Regions from separate parts of the Homo sapiens genome. Here regions 2, 3, 4, 5, 6 and 7 are each linked to region 1. Evidence: promoter capture Hi-C in 16 types of primary human blood cells and fetal thymus (Javierre and others, 2016). All regions are on one chromosome and are shown on one strand. Each heading gives the region's core, a stretch centred on a gene start or on the middle of the fragment in contact. The rest is flanking DNA. Distances are from core to core; before and after follow the strand shown. Region 1 holds the start of EDEM3 (ER degradation enhancing alpha-mannosidase like protein 3). Region 2 has its middle 29 kb from the start of HMCN1. Region 3 overlaps LOC107985239 (a long non-coding RNA gene). Region 4 overlaps COLGALT2 (collagen beta(1-O)galactosyltransferase 2). Region 5 has its middle 1.5 kb from the start of TSEN15. Region 6 holds the start of IVNS1ABP (influenza virus NS1A binding protein). Region 7 overlaps IVNS1ABP (influenza virus NS1A binding protein).

Region 1 (2,757 bases), core at 157-2,656:
GGCTGGATCTATCTCTGCATTAAGAGTGCTTTTATTTTCTTAGGGTAGATTCTCAGAAATAGAACTGATGAATCAAAGTGTGCACAATTTAAATTTTAGTAGATACTACCAATAAGTTACAGCAATTTACACTCTCACTAAGCCTTTTTTTTCTATTCCTTAACTAACCAGAACCGTATCCTTGTGTTTTGTATTATATTTACTAATCTGATGGGCAAAAACCAGCTAGCTCCTCGTTTTAATCTGCATCTCCTACGTTTATGGAGGTTGAGTAACTTTTCATGTTTATTTACCACTTCCATTTCCTCTTCTGGCTTAACCGTTCATGCCTTTCTCCCATTTCCTACTGGTTCTTCGCTTTTTTCTTATTCATGTGTAGGACCTCGTGTATGTATTACTCTGAATTAAATGGTGTAAATAGAATTGATAATTTTAACACACTTCCAAGACGGATAAAAACTACTGAATAGGTATACTTGAGACTTTTGAATAATTTCCCCCCAAACATTCTATTATGAAAATACAGTGCAAGAAAACACTGCAAGGAAATAGTAAAATGTGTAAAGTTCAAGTTCCAATGAACGCCCCCTTTTCCGTAACAGGTGTAAACATCATTTCCTTAACTACTGTGAGATCAGCAACATTTTCCCAGTTGGAAGCTCACTTGCGCGAGAAAGCTAACCATGCTTCGGTCGACAGGCAGCCAACCGCAGAACTCCAGCGCGCAGCGATGCGGGCTGTAGCCCCCTTCTTGGGCCACTGACATGGCAGCCGCGTTGACACACCGCGCCTGGCTTCAAGGAGCCTGCACATGTCACCGGCGGCCAGGGCGACACCCCGTCAGCTCCCCCGAGGTCAGGTCGCGGGCGGCGGTTCCCACCTCCCCGGACCCTGTCCACCCCTCTAGGGTTCTCGCGCGGGAAGAGCCGTTCCAATCGCGACAGGAGAGGCCACTACGCGACCGGGTCGCAATGACAGGCACCCCTCCTGTTGTCAGCCTCACCGAGAAACCCACCCCAGGCTGCCAGCACCCTTACCCAAGCTTCTGTTTCTCCTCCCTACTCATGGGCTCGGCCCCCGCCGTCCACACGGAGGTGGCCGACACCAGGCAGAACGCGGCCGTCGCCGCCACTAGTCTCCATCGCGCTCGCTGGGGAACCGGGGACCCACAGCCCCGGCCGCCGGCTTCGCTCATGGCCCCGCGGTTCCGCGCACGCGCAGCTGCTACGCCCGGCCGGTGAGACACATTGCTGGACGCTGGTGGCCAGGGGGCTGCTAGCCGTGCCGAGACGGGGCGGGATGCGGAGTAACACGGACGGCCGCCGGCGCCAAACTGTTTCCCGAAGCCACCAAGCCGGTCCCCAGCGCCAGCGCTGCCACCGCCCTCCGCCCTCAGTATCCCGGAGCGCCTCCCCCAGCTTTCCGGTGTCGTAGTCTAGGAAACCGCCTCCCCAACGTTACTTCCGGGTAGGGCCGAAGCCGTAGAGCCTCAGGACCAATGGAGACCTCATGGGAGAGGGGCTGTCTCCGGCGACTGGAGAGGGCATTGGCCAGGAGAAGTGAGACGTGGACAAAAGGCGGGACTGGGAAGGGATCTCTCGCTTCGACCCGCCTCCGACCCGCGGAGTTGCCCCCTGAGGACTACCAGTCCCAGTGTGCACTGCTTCTTCCCCGGCTCTCCCGCGAGCCGACTCGGAGCCGTGTCTCTCGCTTCTACCCGGGGTAGGCGCGCTGCACCCTGGGACTTGCGGTCCTCCGAGGTCGCCAGTGGTTGCTGGGATCCCACCTCCCCCTTTCCTCGGCGCCCTACAGTCAACCCTGTCTCGGTGGGCTGCGGAGTCCCGGGAAACCCGTCAGCTGTTTATCTCTCTTCCTCAGAAAGTTGTTTCCCAGAGAGCTGGCTGAATGAGGCGCACTGTCCCCATGTCAGTGCTGCTGCGTTAGGGAATAGTGTTGGAGTAGTCGTCTACCCTCAGGGAAATTCCAAAACACAGTAACAGCAAAATGAATTGAGCCTTTGAAGGCATTGCGCTAAGGTTTTTACTCGCAATCATCTCATGCACTCTTCTCAACTCTGATAGAGTAAGTACCACCATCCCCCTTTTGCAGACGAGAAAACAGAGGCTTAGAAAAGTTGGTTAACAAGAGCTCGTCACACTGCTGTATTAGAATCCATCCAGCCTCTGATTCGGAAGCCCTTGCATTTAACCACCGCGCAGTACTACAAGGATGAAGGAGCACGTGGGTCCTCGTACATGATTAATAATAGTTACCTCAAAAGCTCAATGTAAGGAGAGCTGTGTGGGCTGCAAAGAAGGTTTAATGAAGGAGATTGGAACTTGCAATGAATTTTGATGACCGAGTCCCAGGTTAACTATTGGTAAAATGACACATCGGTTCCTCTTGAAAAACCACATTGTTTTTCTAGTGTGGTCATTCAATAGGTGCGGAGTTTAGGAGCTTCGATGTGATCTCTGTGACCACAGTAAATTACTTACGTGTCCTTTAAGCAGTATTCGGCGGTCTTTCTGGAAACGTTTCTTCCTTGACTTTTATCACCTTACCTCTTACCTCTTAACCTCTTACCTCTTCTCTGGCTGACCCGTTTTCCTTCATTCTCTCGCTACTTTATATTAAAATACAGGTGTTCCCTTAAGGTTTTCTTTTTGTCCTTTTTCTCTCTGTACTCTAATTATTCCTTGGTGATTTCTTCTCATAAGGATTCAGCCAACATATCTCTGTGGTTGATTTCTAAAT
Region 2 (2,757 bases), core at 78-2,577, 950 kb after region 1:
CACTACTAATTGTGCCAAAGTCTTGCTTAATGTACCACACTGCTTTAAGCATTTGTGTTGAGAAAAAGAAAAGTTTAGAGTATTAGGGGGTTTTGCTCCTTAAAAGGTCTTTTATGAATTATTTTTTACCATGGAGAATCCTTCTGTGAAGAGAATAACTTTCCCTTTTATACCTTTTCTGTTCTTACTATTTTGAATCTATAGAATTCATCATATACCTCAACTTTTTTGTCCATGAAAATATGCATCATCTGACTTTGAATAAGTCACACAATAATAAATTCAGATTAGAATTGTCCACACCTTTGTTTCTTCTAAATTTTGGGTATGTAAGCCTCTGATAATTCACATGACTTAATTAAGCAGAAATCTGGCTCCAAGTGTTGCCAGATGGTCACTATATGGATGAGTAAGACATTAACAAGGTGCAAAATGGGCTAAACCAACAAGCCCATTCCTTCAGAGTCCAACTTTGTTGTTTATTTCCCCTGGTGGCAGGAAAACTGGAATGAAACCATATCTCGTATGTGCGATGCTAGCCAGACATTGTGTGCATGTGGTAACAGGAGCCTTATCTCTCAGACCATTAATAAGGATTGGAATAAGCAAAGAAAGGGAAGCCAATAGCAATTGTTAGAGTGATTTTTGAACTCATTACTCATACAGCTGTATAAGAGACTTTAGAACTTCAGCCGACTTATCTTGCTGCAGCAAGTGGCAGTTGTACTTGCTCATGCCAGTGGCCTGAACACAAGAATGCTCAGGTATGAGAAAACACATAGAAAAGGCTGCTATAAGAGATTAATTAGAAAGTGATCATTCATGTTGCTAAATAATTTTTCACTTTCTAAAATATTAACTATGGTAATTATTTTTTCTACTAAGCTTTCTCAAAGCTACTAACATAATTTTAAGAAAATGAAAACCATGAGTTGCATGCAAATATAAAATAAACAAGTCAAAGATTCTATTCAGCTTATCTATTAAAGAAGGAATCAGTAAGATGTTTATGCTGGTTGCAAAAGCATTTGAGGACTTAGGCATTTATAAGCAATTTAATAAAGGAATGTCAGGATAAGATTGCTACACTGCATTAAAAAATTCTGGTTAATATCCTACAGGATACCATTACCTTTGGGATAATCTGTTCCACAAGCCAGACTTTATTTTCATTTTTACTGGACAAAAATTTATAAGTTTCGTGGTAATGTCACTACGTTTGAGACTTTTAATCAGTAGTATATAGTAAATCAAATTATATTCTCCTGGATAATCCCTTGGGAAATCCCTTGGGTAATCCCTTGGGTAAATCTTAAACCCATAAAATATTGGAAGAACTTGCAATCTACTTTTTTGTTTCTTCCTTTTTTCAATTTTGGATGCGTTTCCTTATCAGGGCATTTAATACATTTAAAAAATTAATTATGTGCTTTTTTACGAACATAGGCATTATATAAATATGTAATAACCATCTGGGGAAAATCAAATTATTAGATAAAAATAAGAGTTGTATACAGAATGACAAGTACTTAGAGGAATCCTTTGAGATGAGGTAATATGGACTGAAGCCCCCCTTGGATTTACTGCTACTATTTATTGAATGCTTACTATGTGTTGGTTGTCACATTAGGTGCTTTATAAACACTATCTCTAATGACTTTGAAAATAATTCTTTAATGATAACTGAAGAGCTGGGAGTCAGATAACTTCCTGAGGTCATACAGTTACTGAGTATAACAGCCATGGCCCAAACTCTGACTGTTGAGCTCTAAAGCTTGTGCTAACTTCTGTGCTCTGCCTCTTCTCACCATATCACTACAGGGGTAAGAATCTTACAATTTTGCATATTTAATTTTAAGCATAAATATTGACCCCTAATACTTGTTTCAGTATCAAACCTGGAGCTGATATTTAATGGAGATTTACTGATTGCTAGACACCGTGCTAGTGCCTTGCCCTAGCTGTCATATTTAATCATCCCAACAACCCCATGAGGGGGATCAAAAAGCACTATTAGTTGCAGGTTATGACAAAACACAATAACATTTAACTAAAGCACTATTTACTATATTTAAAAATTCTCCAAGTATCTTGTGTCATGTTGTATCTATAAAAGAGAGTCTCTTTCTCTCTCATAGTTTACAATTCAAGAGAGACTCTGTAAAAGTGAGAACATATTGACATACATAAAACTATGTAAACATGAAACAGAAACATAGATTAAACAGAGATGTAGATCATGTACCATTAAAAGCTTTCCTAAAACATTGTGAACGTTTCATAGAAAAAAAATGTATCAATGGTACCTTCTATCTTTTGGGAAATCATGAGCTTGCTTTATTATGATAGTGCAGAGAATAGTTGAATAATTTGGACTCTATGACTCTCAGCCCTAAATTCAGAAAGTGTAGTTATATACCCCAGTGTTTTTTATTTTTTTAAAAAAACCTCTAGGCAGGAGATATTTTGGTAGGACACAAGACCACAAATTTGTCATACTATTCATATTTTATTTTCTATTTTTACTATAGTGGATAATCCCCAAATAACTATTATGGAGTTAATCTATCACCATCTCCTTCCTATATCTTTTCTGAGGGAAGGTTGGAATTAATGGATGAAGATATGTAGACATCTATGGTGTTCTGGGAAGCTGAGCATGTCTGATATAAGGCATGTGAGGTTTAAATGCATGCATGTGTTAGATATGTTGTCTAGCCTTTCTAGCCCACTAACTATAAACTACATATCTATCTT
Region 3 (2,757 bases), core at 111-2,610, 920 kb after region 1:
GCTGGGATTACAGGCATGAGCCATTGCGCACGGCCCCTGATTATAAAAGTTTTAAATAAGGAAAGGCAATTATTTAAAAAATAAGAAAATGCAGATGCCCAGGGTTTGCTACTGGAGAGATCTGATTCAGAAGGTCAGTAAATTGAATTAATACATTAATTTTGTATCTTTCCTTCAGCTTCTTTGGAACACTGAATATGAAACACAAAGTAGAACTTCAGAACTGATGAACTATTATTAGAAGTGGTTTGATTTGAAAATGTGGAAGTCAATTGTGGGAAGAGGGCATAAGGATGGAGATAACTATGTTTAAAACTTATTTTGAAAGTAGACAACAGCTAACATTAGTGTTCCGTGATGACGGGAAGTGGAGACAATGCAGCTGCTAAATGAGTCCCTTTAAATATTGACATGACTGACTCTAGTGCGACATGTTTAGTAGGAAGTGGGAGAGGAAGTAAAAATAGACCAAAGCAAACATTTGCTCAAGATAGACGAAGAGCAATACATCCTCTCTGTGCCCCTCCACCCCTATGAAAACATGGCTCTAAGCTTCTGACAACTTTTTTTCTCCCGTTTCTATTGTTATGGTCATGGTCATGATTTAGCACATTCTGGTGACTTTCATATATGCTCCTCTGACCAAATTCTAGATAAATGTTTTATGTTTACATTGTCACAACTCTTCAGGAATGAAGGTTACTCTCTCCCTTCATTAGAGACCGAAAATAAATGTTCAGCAGTAGAATCTTTTTCAACATTACTTTAAAAACGCAATCTCAAGGGGTCTCAGTTTTAAAGATTATGGAATTATGTATAGACTCCTACAAAATAAATGGGAGAAGTGGAGGCAACTGCTTAGGTTCCTGAGGACAGATATTGTTTTTCTGAAAGTTTTAGTTAATTGAAGCAACAGTCAGTAAGATCTGATGCAGTTGGACGATAGCTCTGTTCTCTACTGTGTCTTTCATGCATGATGTGGACAAAAATTCCTGTAGAGAAATTGAAAAACAGAGGAATGAACAGAACATGAAAGAAGTTTCTTTTATCTCTCTTTTAATAAGTGAAAATAATGGGCTATGAAAGTTAACTCACTCAAACTATATAGGATGTTAGGCAACAATTTTTCTATGTAAAGTAACTGAATTCATTGCATCTCAGTTTCTGTTGTCTGAGAAAATATTCCTAGAGGCATGTCAGGTAGGATTTGTAGAAAGATGGTAAACACTTTAAGAAGGGTCCACTTATTTCTCTCTGTCTCTTCTCATTGTGCTGAGTAGATGCATTTAGAATTAGATTGCATTAAAAATTTTTAAATGGTAGGCATTCATTGAGCGAAATGATAAAAATTCTTATTCTCTACTTAACTTTCTGCTTCATTCTTATTTAAACTGCACATTTTATTTAAAACTAAGTACCTAAAAATGAACAATGTGCTGGTGAGTGTATCCGTTCTTCTGCCTAAGCACACCTTGGTAAGGAATGATAGTAATAAACCCTGAGAATATATGGGAAGTGCTGTTCTAAAATGAAATCATAAAACTTACACAAAATGACAAGCAGGCAGCTTGAAGGAGAGGGAAATGGTTCTGAAATATGGGCAGAATTCTGGCTTACATCTTGGCACTTTCAGGAGTTGCAGTATGGAAGAAAAAGCAGAGTTCATGTGAATTATTTGAATTTTGCTAACTGGGATAGGCTGGGGAAGGTGTGTCATAGTCAGATTAATAGCATAGGCTTTGAAACTTGACCAGCTTGGGTTTGAATTGTAATAGGCTCTACCCTTCTAGAGCTGGTGTAAATAAAGTGCTTAGCACAGTGTAGCATGCAGCAAGTGCTGAATAAATGGTACCTCTATTCACAAGGGAGCAGATACCGACGTGAAGTAATCTGATGTTAACTGGTAGAGTTCTCCTGTCATCCACCCTCAGCATCTCATTTCACAGTATATGAAGTGCCATCTTAAGTTTTAATTTCTTCACATCTTAAAGCCTTTTTAATCTTCCAAAAGTCAATTTTAAAAGGCTCTGGATCTCTTCTTATCATTAGCTAGTATAAATAGAGGTCAGTTTAATTTTCTACTATGTATTTTAAATGATCAAAATGACAATTCATTTTATTAATAATTACTAAAAGTACCTATATTTTTGGAAAGTATACATCCAAGATAAGCTTATTAGGAATTAGCTGTGTCACAGTGTTTTTCAAATTGTGTTTCACTTTATTATACTATCTATGATATCTGCTTTGTAAAAAAAAGTTGCCATAATCTAATAAGGTTGAGATATGCATACCTGAAGACTCACAATGCACATCAGCATATTAAAGTTCTGAAACTATTCTACAGAAAAGAAACCTTTGCTTAACCTAGAATTTTCCAAACCAATTTGACTAGAGACTACTGTTGTTAGACAACATCTGTTAATATGCCATAGTTACATTTTGGTTTAAGACTACATTCTAGTTTAAGAGATTATTTTCCAAACTTAATAGTTAACTGGGAAAGTCAGACTCTTTAGGAATAGAGCATAGATTAGGCACTTGTGACAAGTGGATAGCAGAGAGGATCCTAAAAGGGAAGGCAAGAGGATGACAGTGAACTCTGTCCTACATAAAAAGAGCAGAGAAGAGATTCATGCAACTATTAGTCTACTTATAGTTTAGTTACATGCTTAGCCACTGACCTGTGTCTAACTTAAATCAGTGAACTATCTGCTTCCCAGTTTTTTCTCCATCAAATGTCAGGGGGCAAGGTGA
Region 4 (2,757 bases), core at 145-2,644, 800 kb before region 1:
GCCAAGCCAGTCTTGCTGGCTCTCAGATGCAAGCTCAGGCTTGTGTTCCAAAATGAACACACAAGCCTGCACACGCGTGCATGTGCACACACATATAGACACCTTTCCTACCTCATCAAATCCCATCTTGTCTGGATATTTAGGGACAACTGAGACATACTGGGAGGGTTCCATTGGAGGACGGTCAACTGGAAGACACAAGAAACATGCAGAGTGCTTTGTTAATGAAAGGGTCAGAAATCAGAATTCCATCCGCATGCCTGATCTCTAGGGTTGGAATATAACTTGGAAATACAGGGCAGGGGACAATGGCAGCAGTTCTCCAGGATTGAGTAGCCACACAGGAACCCTGCTGGTCAGGGCACTGGTTTCAGGAGCATTTGATTATATGGAGATTGCAACATTTGCTCCACTTCCCTTAAGACTTATTTCAAGAATATTTGGGAGGCAGTTTAGGATAATGGTTAAGAGGAAGGGCTCCAGAGTCGGATGATCTGGGTCCAAACCTTGGTTTGCGAAGGAGTAGGAGAGTTAGGGGACCTCTTTAAGCTCATTTCTTTGGTGTAAAATTGGGATAATAGAAGTGTATCTGTGTTATAAAATTTAAATGAGACCTGCGTGCAAAGCACTCACCACTTTAACACAGTAAATGCTCAACAACTCTTAGCTATTACTTACTATGGCCCATGATGAAAGAGCTCAGAAATAGGCTAGAATTTTTACTGAAAAACACTTTTTTCTCTGCATTTAAAATTGTCAAAGTGGGGGACTATTTTTATCCCACCTGGGCAGGTTTAGGTGTGGGTGCGCAAAAGGTCCATTGCTTTAACAGGATCTAACCACAGAGAGCTGGCCCATGTCTAATGGGAAGATTCCAGCTGGGAGTGACACTACTTCTTCAATAATGAAAGTTTTATTTATTTGATACTCTAAAAAAGCTTCCTTTGCAAACTATGTATTTTAAAGTTTGGAAGTAATATTGGTTAAGAAACCTGAAAAGGCCTTGAAGAATGTTTAGTATTATAAAAATTCAAAGTCCTCGAAGAATGTTTAGTATTATACAAATTCAAAGTCCTCATTTGATTTTCCTTAAAGGGATAATACAAAGAAAATTTAAAATGATAGCTGGTAACTGGGTTGTTGAAAGAACTATGGGTAATGGCCATGACTACTGTAACGTATCTGTTCACCTCTATTCCAGGCACAGGAGAGGAATACACTCTCTTGCCCTTGAAGTTACTCAGGGCTATATGACTTTCTGGGGAAAGTTTATAGTGTGGTGCTGCTGCTCCACTCTCCAAGGGCTCCCCCGACACTGCCCTTGGTCCCACCACTGTGCTCATAGCGGCATGTGTGGATATGGATAGCAGATGTGAATTGGAAGCAGCCTGGAACATTGCATCAACACATGAAGGGCAGCTCCCAGGAAAGACACCTGCTCTGCAGACTTGGATAGCAAGAAATAAGCCATTGTTGTATGAAGCCAATCAGATTTTTATATTCCAGCATAACTTTGCCCATCCTGAGATACTGTCCAAAGGGTATGATCTGTTTAACTTCACTGAAATATTATAGAGAAATCCTGACATCCAATTTTACTTATTGGCGAATGATGTGAAATTCTAGAACGTAGTGAGACAGAGTTCTTAGGCCAAACACAAGAGCTGGTCTCATTACTTCAAACTTGACACTTACAGTCATATTTCTGTGCATATGCAGTGCATGTCTTTGTCTTCCCAATAGCAGCCGAGAATATTCTGGTCCTTTCTGCTCCACTCCACTCCTTATTAGTTTCTTTTAAAATCAATAGGGAGGGTCCACCAGGTACACGGTTAGGTTTTTAAGAGAAAGAAGCTTAATGTACCAGCTTCCTCCTGTTCATGATATTGTCTGAGGAGCTGTCTCACTCTCCCTCCTGGGGCCTGAGACTTGGGAAGATGTTATATTTTGAGTTACCCATTCTAGGCTGCTGGTCTCCTTTGGACTCACATGGCCTGTGTGGCTTTAACATTTCAGCCAAAGAGACTGCTTTTAGCCACTTTGTTTCCATCAAACATAGGCAGTCATTGCATTCACAGGACAAGTGTTGCAAAAAAAAAGCCACAAGTGGTTGGCTCCCGAAAGTCATCACTGAGCAAAAATATCAGAGAAGTGTGCTTGGGTTTTGCCACTGAAGGCAGCAGTAAGCCACAGAGGAAAACAGGAAGTGATACAGTGAGTCAGACCTAAGAAACTTAGTCTGTGGGGAGAAGGATGTATCTTTGCTGACAACAGACTTGAAGGTTAGGTATATCCTGGCTTCTGTTTGTAGTCATTTCTGACTCCATCTTTCATAATTGATCTGGTCTCTCATTAAATCCCTTCCTGGAAATAATCCTTCCCTGTACTGCCACTTGGGACAATGGGCTTCATTGCTTTCGGGATAGTTTCAAGATCTAATGTGAATAATTACAGCCATTGTTACAGAGGTCTTATCACTCACAGAACCCAGAGTTCTGTGAGTGATATATATATATGTCACATATATACTTGACATATATAATCACATATATTTAATGTTCACATGTACCATGGGATATGTATGAGTGTCTCTATTTTTATAGACAAGGAAACAAACATTAAATAACTTGCCCAAGATCACAGAGCTGATAGAGCTGGTATTTGAACCTAGGTCCTACTCCTTTACCGGAGCTCTTAATTCCCATTCCACATCATCCCCAGAGCTAGTCCTTGGTGGCCACTGGTATTAGCCAACCA
Region 5 (2,757 bases), core at 167-2,666, 700 kb before region 1:
GGATTTCATTCGTTGTTTCTTATCTAGCTTTTTTTTCTCACTACTTTGGTTCTCTAATAGAGTGAACTATTGAAGCATTTACAAAATGAGAAATCCTCCAGGATACCAGACACTGAAACTCTCCTCTGTTCTCTAGTGGATTTCACTCTAGATTGTCACAATAGGTATTTTGATTCTGTACTTTAAATACTGGGTTGTCTAAGTGTTCCCAAATCCTTTGTGTTCATTCTTAGCCATTCACAATCACCAAGACCTATTTAAAAATTTACATTAACAGGGAAGCTAACAGACACTCCCTTTTCATTCTTCAACTCTTTTGAAAAGCACGTAATACTCATTCTTGAATGTATCATGCTTTTTCTAAGCAACAGTATTTAATCTATTTGCCAAAGGATGGCATTTATCTGTTGCTTTTTTGGTTTATGGTTCTTTCCATACCCCCAATTATTTTTTCTTGAACATAAGCTGAAATTCTTCCCCTGCAGATGTTTGAGGCTGGTTCATATAGTCCCTAATCCCATTGGATATCCTTACTGATTTATAAAAGTTTCCCTCTACTCAGATTAGCATCAAAATACTCTTAATGCTTTTAAAAATGCCATCATATGAACTGATTTGGATCTTTAGGAGTCAGAGAGATTTATTCACTTCCAATCACTTGAATTCGTGTCAGTGTTTCATGCTTCAATGACCCAATTAATTTCAGTGCCATTTTCTTCTTTCGGGCTTAGCAGCTGCTTTGTGGTGGCAAAGGTTCATTCAAATGTAATGTATTTGAGGGCAACATATGAATCTTCATGTGTGGCTTTACATTTCATTCAATAATAGATGCCCTTCTTTTCCCTGTGTATGATGTGTTATTTCTTTTGATGCATTCAAGCTTTTCTCTTTATTTTTTTGACTTTCAATAGTTTTATTACAATGTAGACTTCTTTGTGTTTATTTTAGTTGCTATGTATTTAGCATTTTGTACTAGTAAATGTGTTTTTCATCAAATTTGGGGAAATTCTGGCCACCACTCTTTCTTCAAAAATTTTTTCTGTCCCTTTTTTTTTCTACTTCTGTTGTTTACATGCATGTTGGATTGTCTGACATGTAGCAAATCTCTGTTGGTCTACTCACTTTTTAAAGATAATTTTTCTCTTTGTTGTTTACTTTTAATAATTTCTATTGCTCTATCTTCAAGTTCCCTACTTTTTCTTTTGTAATTTTTTTTGGCTGTTAAATTCACCCAGTGAATTTTTTATTTCTAAAATTATAATTTTCAATTTTCAGAATTTCCATTTGGTTTTAAAAATCTTTTTTTTTCTTTTTCTTTGCTGAGATTTTCTATTTGTCTCCTGAGATTTTCATTCATTGAAAACATGTTTTACTTCATTGAGGATAGTTATAATAGTCACTTTAAAATCCTTATCTGTCAGTTTCAATATCTGATTCATCTCAGGGTTGATCTCTAGAGTATGCGATCCATTTCCTTGAATTTCATATGTCAGATAGTTTTGGATAGTACTCTGGACTTTGTGAGTGTTAAGTGGAGAGTCTGGATTCTATTATTCTTCTCTGATGAGTGTTATTTCCTTTGTATTAGTAGGTAATTTTCCCGGCTAGATTTTAACTGAAAACTCTCTCCCTTTTGGAGACAGCTCTGGTCTCAGTTCAGATCTTTTGTTTTTAACTGAGCTGCTGTGATTCTGTTTTGGGTGGTTCAGGATCTCTCAGAGATGTGGGTTGACAGTTTGGGGATCCACTCTCTGACTCCTTCCTTGGGATTTCTTAATCTCTTCAGAATTCAAAATTTTCTGTCTTCACTTTTCTGCTTCCCCAGACAAGAATAACTGATAAGTTTTATACATGCATCCCTGGTACTGCTGAGCCTGACTTCTGGACTGCACTTTGCCCCAAGCTAAATGCCAAAGAGAGGAGAATTTTCTTGTGGAGTTCTTGATCTTCAAGCAAGCTTGCCCTTCCTACCAGTCTGCTGTTCACATTCCAGTATATTCAGCTTTTTGTATTGTGTCCAAGTGTAGTTCCTGATCTTCAAGCAAGCTTGCCCTTCCTACCAGTCCACTATTCACATTCCAGTATATTCAGCTTTTTGCATTGTGTCCAAATTGTTTTCTGCTGGGGGATGGTCCACTAGGGTCTTAGTCTATCATGGTTGAAAACAGAAGTTATGTCCTGCCTGGGACTTTGGATTTTGAGTCACCCTTGTCCTGGTCAATGCGATAGCCTCCTAACCAGTCTCTGTTTGTGTCCTTGCTCCCTCCAGTCTATCCTCAACATATCAGTCAGAGTGATCCTATGAAAACGTCCAGGAGCCTCCAATAGCTTCCCATTTCACTCACAGTAAATTAAAAAATACTTAAAATGTGCTACTCTGCCTGTTTGAAACTCCTCATCCTTGGCTTCCAGATCACATGCTTATGCTAGTTTGTATCCTACCTTTCTGAACACTCGTTCAGCAACTCGTGTTTCCTCTAATCCTGAAACGTGGGTCCACCCTGAAAGTATGGTTCTACTTTAAAGTTCTATGTCAGGGCACTGAGTAAGGCCTTTCCCGTCCCCAGCAATCAGAAACCAGGACCCCACTGCTGAAGGCAAAGAGGACGTATGTATCCCCCAACTTTCTCAGAGAGTTATCGGCAGCACTGACTTAAAGAGGATTAAGAGCTTCAGGGCGCAGGCTACTCTTTAATATTTTTCACGTTAGAATTTGCTCAGATTTGAATAAACGCAGAGCGAAACTAGAGAGCGTTC
Region 6 (2,757 bases), core at 72-2,571, 560 kb after region 1:
ACAAAAATGCGCCCTTTTGGACATCTGATTTCTCCTTGAAATGTCAGCTGTCTCAAACCAATAGATATGTCCACTACCTATTGGGGGAAAAAGTAAATGTAGTTCTCAAGTAGTGGTTCAAGTTACCCTAGGTTCAACCCTCAGCCTGATACCTTCCTATCATCAAGAGCTTATAATCAGAGACACTTAACCAAAAGCGTGGAGGGACGGAAAAAGAGCAAATCTTGCCACTGATTTCTTTCATAAAAAAGAAAGAGCGTCCCAGGCCTTCCTCCTCGCGCAGCCAGGCCGGCGCCCACTCCGCAGGCTGCGAGGCGAGGCCCCCAGCACCCGCACACCCCCGCCCCGGATTGGCCAGCCCCGCAGTCACTCAGTACCGACACGTCAGGGCAGCCGCTCCCTCCCTCCTCCCGCCCCCTTCTCCCCGCGCTTGGCAAGAAAAGCGGGCAACGTGGAGCGGGAACAAAGGACCCCGCGGCCCACGGCGATCGGGGACTCCGTGCCACCCTACTCCAGGCCCGGGGCTGGCTGCCCGCCCACACGAGCCGAGTCTCGAGAGCTCTTCCAGAAGAGAATCCCAAACCCCAGGCAAACCCGAGGCGAGGCGTCCGTTCCTGACAGCAAGAACGGGGAGTCCCGCGCCCTCCTTCCGGCGGGTCATCCCCGCCCGCGGCGCCCTAACCCAGGCCCCCCAAAACCCTTCGAACAAAAAACTCTTGTTCCTCCCAGCCTGCCTCACCCGCGCCAGTGTAGCAAAGGGGCTCCAGCCTCCGCGCTCTCCGAGGCGACCGGCGCCCGCTCTCGGCCGCCAACGCAACTTGGCAACCATGGCAGCGCTGGAGCGCGGGCCCAGCGCGGCGCGGGCTTCACGTCCCAGAGGGCGGCGGCGGCCGCTTGGGGCTGCCTCCCCTGATGAGGACACCGCTTCCGCGCCTCCCACCCTCTTCCCATCCGCCGGCGCCATCCCTTCTTCTCGGATTCTAGCCGCGCCGTCTCCCTCATCTGTCGTTCGTAGAACCAGCGCGTATTACCTGGTTCATCTCTGAAGAGATGGAAACATTCATTTCTAGAGCTTCGATGGGAAGCAGGAGGAAGCGGGCGGGAATCGGCCCAACGGAAAGCGCCAGAAGGCGGCGGAAGACGGGAGCGGTCAAGTAGAAGGACGAGGGGCCAGTCCGTGGAGACTGAAAGGAAGGGGGAGCGCCACCGAGAACTCGCGGGAACTCGCTCGCTCGCCGATACAGCCGCGCCGAAGCAGCAGGCGGAGAAACTGCGCCCAGCAGCTCTGAGCGACCGACCTCCACGCGCGACCGGGAGACACTGCCTCCGCCGCCGCCGACCGCTCGCGCCGCACCCCCTCGCACGTCACCACGTGCGCTGCCGCCGCCGACGCCTCCCAGCCCGCTTCCGTCTCGAATCCATCTGCAAATCACAGGCGAGCTCCATAAAGATCCCACTCTAAGCCCCGCCCCACCCGCGGCCCCGCCCACATCCCGCCCCGCCTTCCTCCCTGGTCTACTGGGGTTCCTTCCTTCTCGGTGTAACTAGGTCAGCGCAAGGTGATCCTGAGGAGATAGGCGGCGCTCGGGGGGCGCCCTCGTTCCTCTTATCGCGCCTTTGTCCCTCCCTCCGTTCCTTGCCCCGCACCCTCACTTTCGCCGCCCTGTGCGTTGCCTGTCCCGGAACTGGTTCCCTCAAGCCGCCCTCACCTGTTCTGACTTCCCCTCGAGGCACAATAGCCTGAGAGATCAGACGTGGGAGATTAGATTGCTCGGCGTCAGACCTACTTCTAGGCAACCCCCCCTAGACTGGAGCTGCTCGTCGTGGACATTAGGATCTAGTTGGGCATGAGCCCTTAACTTAAGGGTCGGGGGGGAAGTGGCGGGTGCGGAGAGGAGGCGTGGAGAGTGTGAGGAAGAAGAGAGGCACTCTGAGAAGAAGTCGAACAACTAACCCCTCATTTGGCCTGGTTTGGGTGAGAAGATTGAGTCACTTGGGGAAAAAAATATTGGAGAAGTCAGAGAAGGTGTAAATCAGTGGTGCCACAAACACCAGTTTACTTCCACTTTTCACCCCCCGGGTCTGTTTTGTCTGCGTGCAGCTCTCCTCGTGTCGGAGACGCTGAGTCAGTTCTCTACTGGTCTTGCCCTCTTCCGGAAAAAGAAAACACACCTGAGAAGTGGTAGTTCCTATCCTAACCTACTGGGGCCCTTTATACCAGGTGCCAAACTTCATTATCCACCCCACCACCTTGCCCGGGAGGGAGATCTGTGAAAGCGAAACGTGATTTAAGCTGGGATCTGGCAGCAACTTCGTGGACTCTGAAGGGCACGTGGGAAAGGAGTTTTGATTGAAGGTGAGGGATTTAGTGAGGTAAAATTATATCCAAATTAGAGTTTGGTAAAGGCTTCCAGGTTAATGTCCTGTTAACGCTTATCCTGATTTGTGGAGGACACTTAAGCTGTCTAGGCCTAACCTTGTGTTTGATCACTCACCTTAATTTGTAGACATTCTAGGAGCTCTTTGTCAATGCCTCTTACCATTTTTATCATTAACTATTTATGCTTATAGAAGCAGGAAAAATAAATTGTGGGAGCCTTCATCTGCAATAGGTTTACAACTTTTTTTCTAAAATCTTGAGGCAAGGAGACTTATTCCCCCGCCCCTTTTTTTCTCACAGATTTCTTGTATGTCTCCCTCGCCCCGCCCGCACCCCGTCCCCCCGCCCCCGGACAATTAATTGTAGGAGGAAACAAG
Region 7 (2,757 bases), core at 158-2,657, 540 kb after region 1:
GGGTTTTAGTATTATATATACTTGTATTTTTAAAAATCCATCTCTGTATTCATGGAATTCTTTAATATCTTTGGCTGTTGTTAAAAGCAAGAATTGGCCACCCTGAGGGTTTGTAGACTAGTTTTGGCCTGTGACAGGAATCCTTTTTAATTCTAGCTTTGTTTATGAACTAGATGTAGTTTGTCTCAAATTAATTCTCGATGTTGAAAACACTGAGGACAGATTCTTGAGCAGAATTACCAGTTATAAGCCTGGAAGGTGAGGTGGTGGACACCCAAATCCGAGCTACTAGCTTGGTTCAGTCTTCTTAAAGCACAAACCATTTTCAACATCCTATTCTTTATTTCTAATGAGGTAAAATATGGACATGTTCTAGCCCTTCTTCTAAGCTTGATATTTTAAAGGTTTGGTACCACTTTGGTTAAGCTAGAAAAACAAAACTTTTTTTCCTTCGTAAGTGTAGAGTTCTGTGAGTTCTGTCAAACATGTAATCAATCAATCATCAGCAGTCAAGATATTGAAGTCACACCACCCCTAAAAATTCCCTCATGTCCCTTTGTAATTAACTCCCATTCCCAGCTCAGGAGGCCATTGATGTGTTTGCCTTCCCTGTAGTTTTTCCTATTCCTGAATGCTATATAAATGGAGACTGTTTTTTTAAGAGACAGGGTCTTGCTATGTTGCCCAAGTGCAGTGGCTGTTCAGACATTATAGCATACTACAGCCTTGAACTCCTGGGCTCAGGCAATCCTCTCACCTCAGCCTCCTGAGTAGCTGGGACTACAAGTGCATGCCACTATGCCCAGCTAATGGAGGCTTTTGAGTCTGGCTTTTTATTTAGCATGATGCTTGAGACTTATCCATATTATCAGTAGTTCATTATTTTATTCCCAAGAAGTATTGCATTGCCATGGATGTACAAATTTATTCATTCACCAGGTGGAAGGCTACTTCACTGAATTCAGTTTTTGGTGATTATGAATAAAGTTGCTATATTCACATACAGGTTTGTGTGAATATGTTCCTTCACTTGGGTAAATACCTACGAATGGGATTGCTTTGTCACAGATTATTAGAAAATGGATGGATTGTTTTTTAAACTGCCTGTGCACCTTTGCAGTTCCTCCAGCAATGTATGAGAGTTCAAGTTGCTCTGCATCGTAAGCAGAATTTGGTATATTCAGTTTCAATAGGTGTATGCCATTTTGGTTTTAATTTACATTTTCTTAATGATTTATGATAGTATTTTCCTGTGTTCTTATGGCATCAACTTCTTTTGCAAAGTGTCTTCAAATATTTTACCCATTTAAAAATCGTTTTAACAGATCTCATCTTATTACCTTGCTGGACATTTCATCTCAGTAGTTTCATTACTCCAAGTTAGGTCTTTCTGTGTGCCTTTTTTTTCTGGCTAAAATTATGTTACTTCCTTTGGTCATCCTGAGCAAGTGTGTGGCCTCTATTCAGATATATGCCTCTGTTAAAGGCATTCCACACAGATCCAGCATAATGATTGAGTTTTGCTTCTCACCTTTGTTCTCTCCACCCAGTAAGGTGTGGAGCTGTTAATAAAGTTCATTATTTTATTGGCCAAGATTATTGATGCTCATAGGTTGAAGAACCCATGACATTCACATGAGTTTGTATGTTCCTGTTTATAAACTCTACTTGTTCAAAGTGTCATTAATATTCTTGAGAAACTGGCAGTTTTATTATGAAGGATATCTGCAATTCATAGCAATTACTCCTTTTTAACCTAGAGACACTGATTTAACTTAATAAAACCTGTTTATAGGATGAAACTTGTAGCTCAGTCTTACCAAGGATTTAAGGATTCATATATGAGTGTTTTTCTTTCTCCTTTACACCTAGTTAATTAACCTTGTATCTTATGTCTCACTTGCTGACTCTTCAGACCTTTTTTTTTTGGAACAAAAAGCAGCTGCGTGTAAATTACGACAGCAACTGAATTTTCCATGAATCATATTCACTTTTCTGAAGGCAACTCTGCATGCAGTTACAGAAATGTCCTACTGGGGCTCCTCCTTTGCCTACTTCAATTTTAAGAATTCTGAGGTCAGGAGAGGTAATAGGGCACACACCTAATTTGTTAATTAAGCAAGGATTCTAATGATATATCACATACTCAAATCCTGGATTTTCCCTAAAATATGATTATTATATTGGGAATTTGAAAACATGTTGAGCAGTGGTAAAGTACATGACACACTAGAAGCCAAAAATCAGAACCCTACATTTAAAGTTCATAATAAAAGATCCACCCGAGTATAACCAATAATATTTGGTTTAGATATTTTATAGCTTTTCTACCTTTTTAGGAAATTTAGAGTGTTTTATTAAGTTGACCAGAAGTGTGGTATTATCAATATTATTTTGAAACTATTCAAAAATTCCTACTGGTTAAAAAGCTTTTTTTTTTTTTTAAATTGTGCTGAGGCTATGCCATTTTCTCCCTCTCTGAAGAAAGTATGTACCTTTTAGATACAGATTAACAGTAACAAATGGCCACTGAGCACTGCTTTTTTTCCTTTATGGAAACTTCTCATGTTCATGCAGACTAGCTACAACAGCTTCTTAAAAAAAGATACTTTTTGGCCACCAAACTACCTCTTTGGCATCCAAGGTAATGCAGGAAAACTTTGACCCAAAGTATTCCCATATATTATTTGCATTAAGCATGTCACTTATGAAATGAGAAGTGATCTCAAGGATTTTAGTGCTGAATCCTCAACTAAA

What was found. Contacts are between HindIII fragments. The CHiCAGO score rates a contact against its expected background, and 5 or more counts as called.
Region 2: a contact is called between a fragment that was not itself captured here and the fragment with the promoter of EDEM3 in region 1, in 2 of 17 cell types (total B cells and naive B cells). The highest score is 7.8, in total B cells.
Region 3: a fragment that was not itself captured here is called in contact with the fragment with the promoter of EDEM3 in region 1 in 9 of 17 cell types (naive CD4 T cells, total CD4 T cells, total B cells and 6 more); the score reaches 17.1 in naive CD4 T cells.
Region 4: a contact is called between a fragment that was not itself captured here and the fragment with the promoter of EDEM3 in region 1, in 2 of 17 cell types (total CD8 T cells and non-activated CD4 T cells). The highest score is 5.8, in total CD8 T cells.
Region 5: a fragment that was not itself captured here is called in contact with the fragment with the promoter of EDEM3 in region 1 in 1 of 17 cell types (fetal thymus); the score reaches 5.8 in fetal thymus.
Region 6: a contact is called between the fragment with the promoter of IVNS1ABP here and the fragment with the promoter of EDEM3 in region 1, in 9 of 17 cell types (naive CD4 T cells, total B cells, neutrophils and 6 more). The highest score is 9.3, in naive CD4 T cells.
Region 7: a fragment that was not itself captured here is called in contact with the fragment with the promoter of EDEM3 in region 1 in 1 of 17 cell types (non-activated CD4 T cells); the score reaches 5.1 in non-activated CD4 T cells.

Annotation. Positions count from the first base shown.
Region 1 is chr1:184,753,452-184,756,208 of GRCh38, forward strand. EDEM3 (ER degradation enhancing alpha-mannosidase like protein 3) reads right to left here and starts at 1,407. Exons shown (of 20, transcript NM_025191.4): 1 at 1,038-1,407. The coding sequence starts at 1,195. LOC105371649 (a long non-coding RNA gene) reads left to right here and starts at 1,723. Exons shown (of 3, transcript XR_922357.4): 1 at 1,723-2,082. RefSeq lists enhancers at 991-1,090, 1,561-1,660. The HindIII fragment of the contact is 1,960 bases long and covers 1,041-2,757 here.
Region 2 is chr1:185,703,800-185,706,556 of GRCh38, forward strand. No RefSeq gene overlaps it. Among named protein-coding and RNA genes, the nearest start is that of HMCN1, 29 kb to the right of the region's middle. The HindIII fragment of the contact is 889 bases long and covers 884-1,772 here.
Region 3 is chr1:185,673,934-185,676,690 of GRCh38, forward strand. The region is part of intron 1 of LOC107985239 (a long non-coding RNA gene); the gene reads left to right. Among named protein-coding and RNA genes, the nearest start is that of GS1-204I12.4, 29 kb to the left of the region's middle. The HindIII fragment of the contact is 1,620 bases long and covers 551-2,170 here.
Region 4 is chr1:183,954,651-183,957,407 of GRCh38, forward strand. It overlaps COLGALT2 (collagen beta(1-O)galactosyltransferase 2), which reads right to left. Exons shown (of 12, transcript NM_015101.4): 7 at 112-188. Among named protein-coding and RNA genes, the nearest start is that of COLGALT2, 82 kb to the right of the region's middle. RefSeq lists a silencer at 1,182-1,346. The HindIII fragment of the contact is 916 bases long and covers 937-1,852 here.
Region 5 is chr1:184,048,821-184,051,577 of GRCh38, forward strand. No RefSeq gene overlaps it. Among named protein-coding and RNA genes, the nearest start is that of TSEN15, 1.5 kb to the right of the region's middle. RefSeq lists enhancers at 1,829-2,757, 2,517-2,626, 2,687-2,757, 2,695-2,757. The HindIII fragment of the contact is 1,077 bases long and covers 879-1,955 here.
Region 6 is chr1:185,315,922-185,318,678 of GRCh38, forward strand. It overlaps IVNS1ABP (influenza virus NS1A binding protein), which reads right to left and starts at 1,322. Exons shown (of 15, transcript NM_006469.5): 1 at 1,032-1,322. CBSLR (CBS mRNA stabilizing lncRNA) reads left to right here and starts at 1,531. Exons shown (of 4, transcript XR_007066771.1): 1 at 1,531-2,356. RefSeq lists enhancers at 648-1,261, 1,911-2,010, 2,261-2,340 and silencers at 751-810, 1,271-1,580. The HindIII fragment of the contact is 11,176 bases long and covers 1-2,757 here.
Region 7 is chr1:185,293,656-185,296,412 of GRCh38, forward strand. It overlaps IVNS1ABP (influenza virus NS1A binding protein), which reads right to left. Exons shown (of 15, transcript NM_006469.5): 15 at 2,733-2,757. Among named protein-coding and RNA genes, the nearest start is that of IVNS1ABP, 22 kb to the right of the region's middle. The HindIII fragment of the contact is 2,040 bases long and covers 388-2,427 here.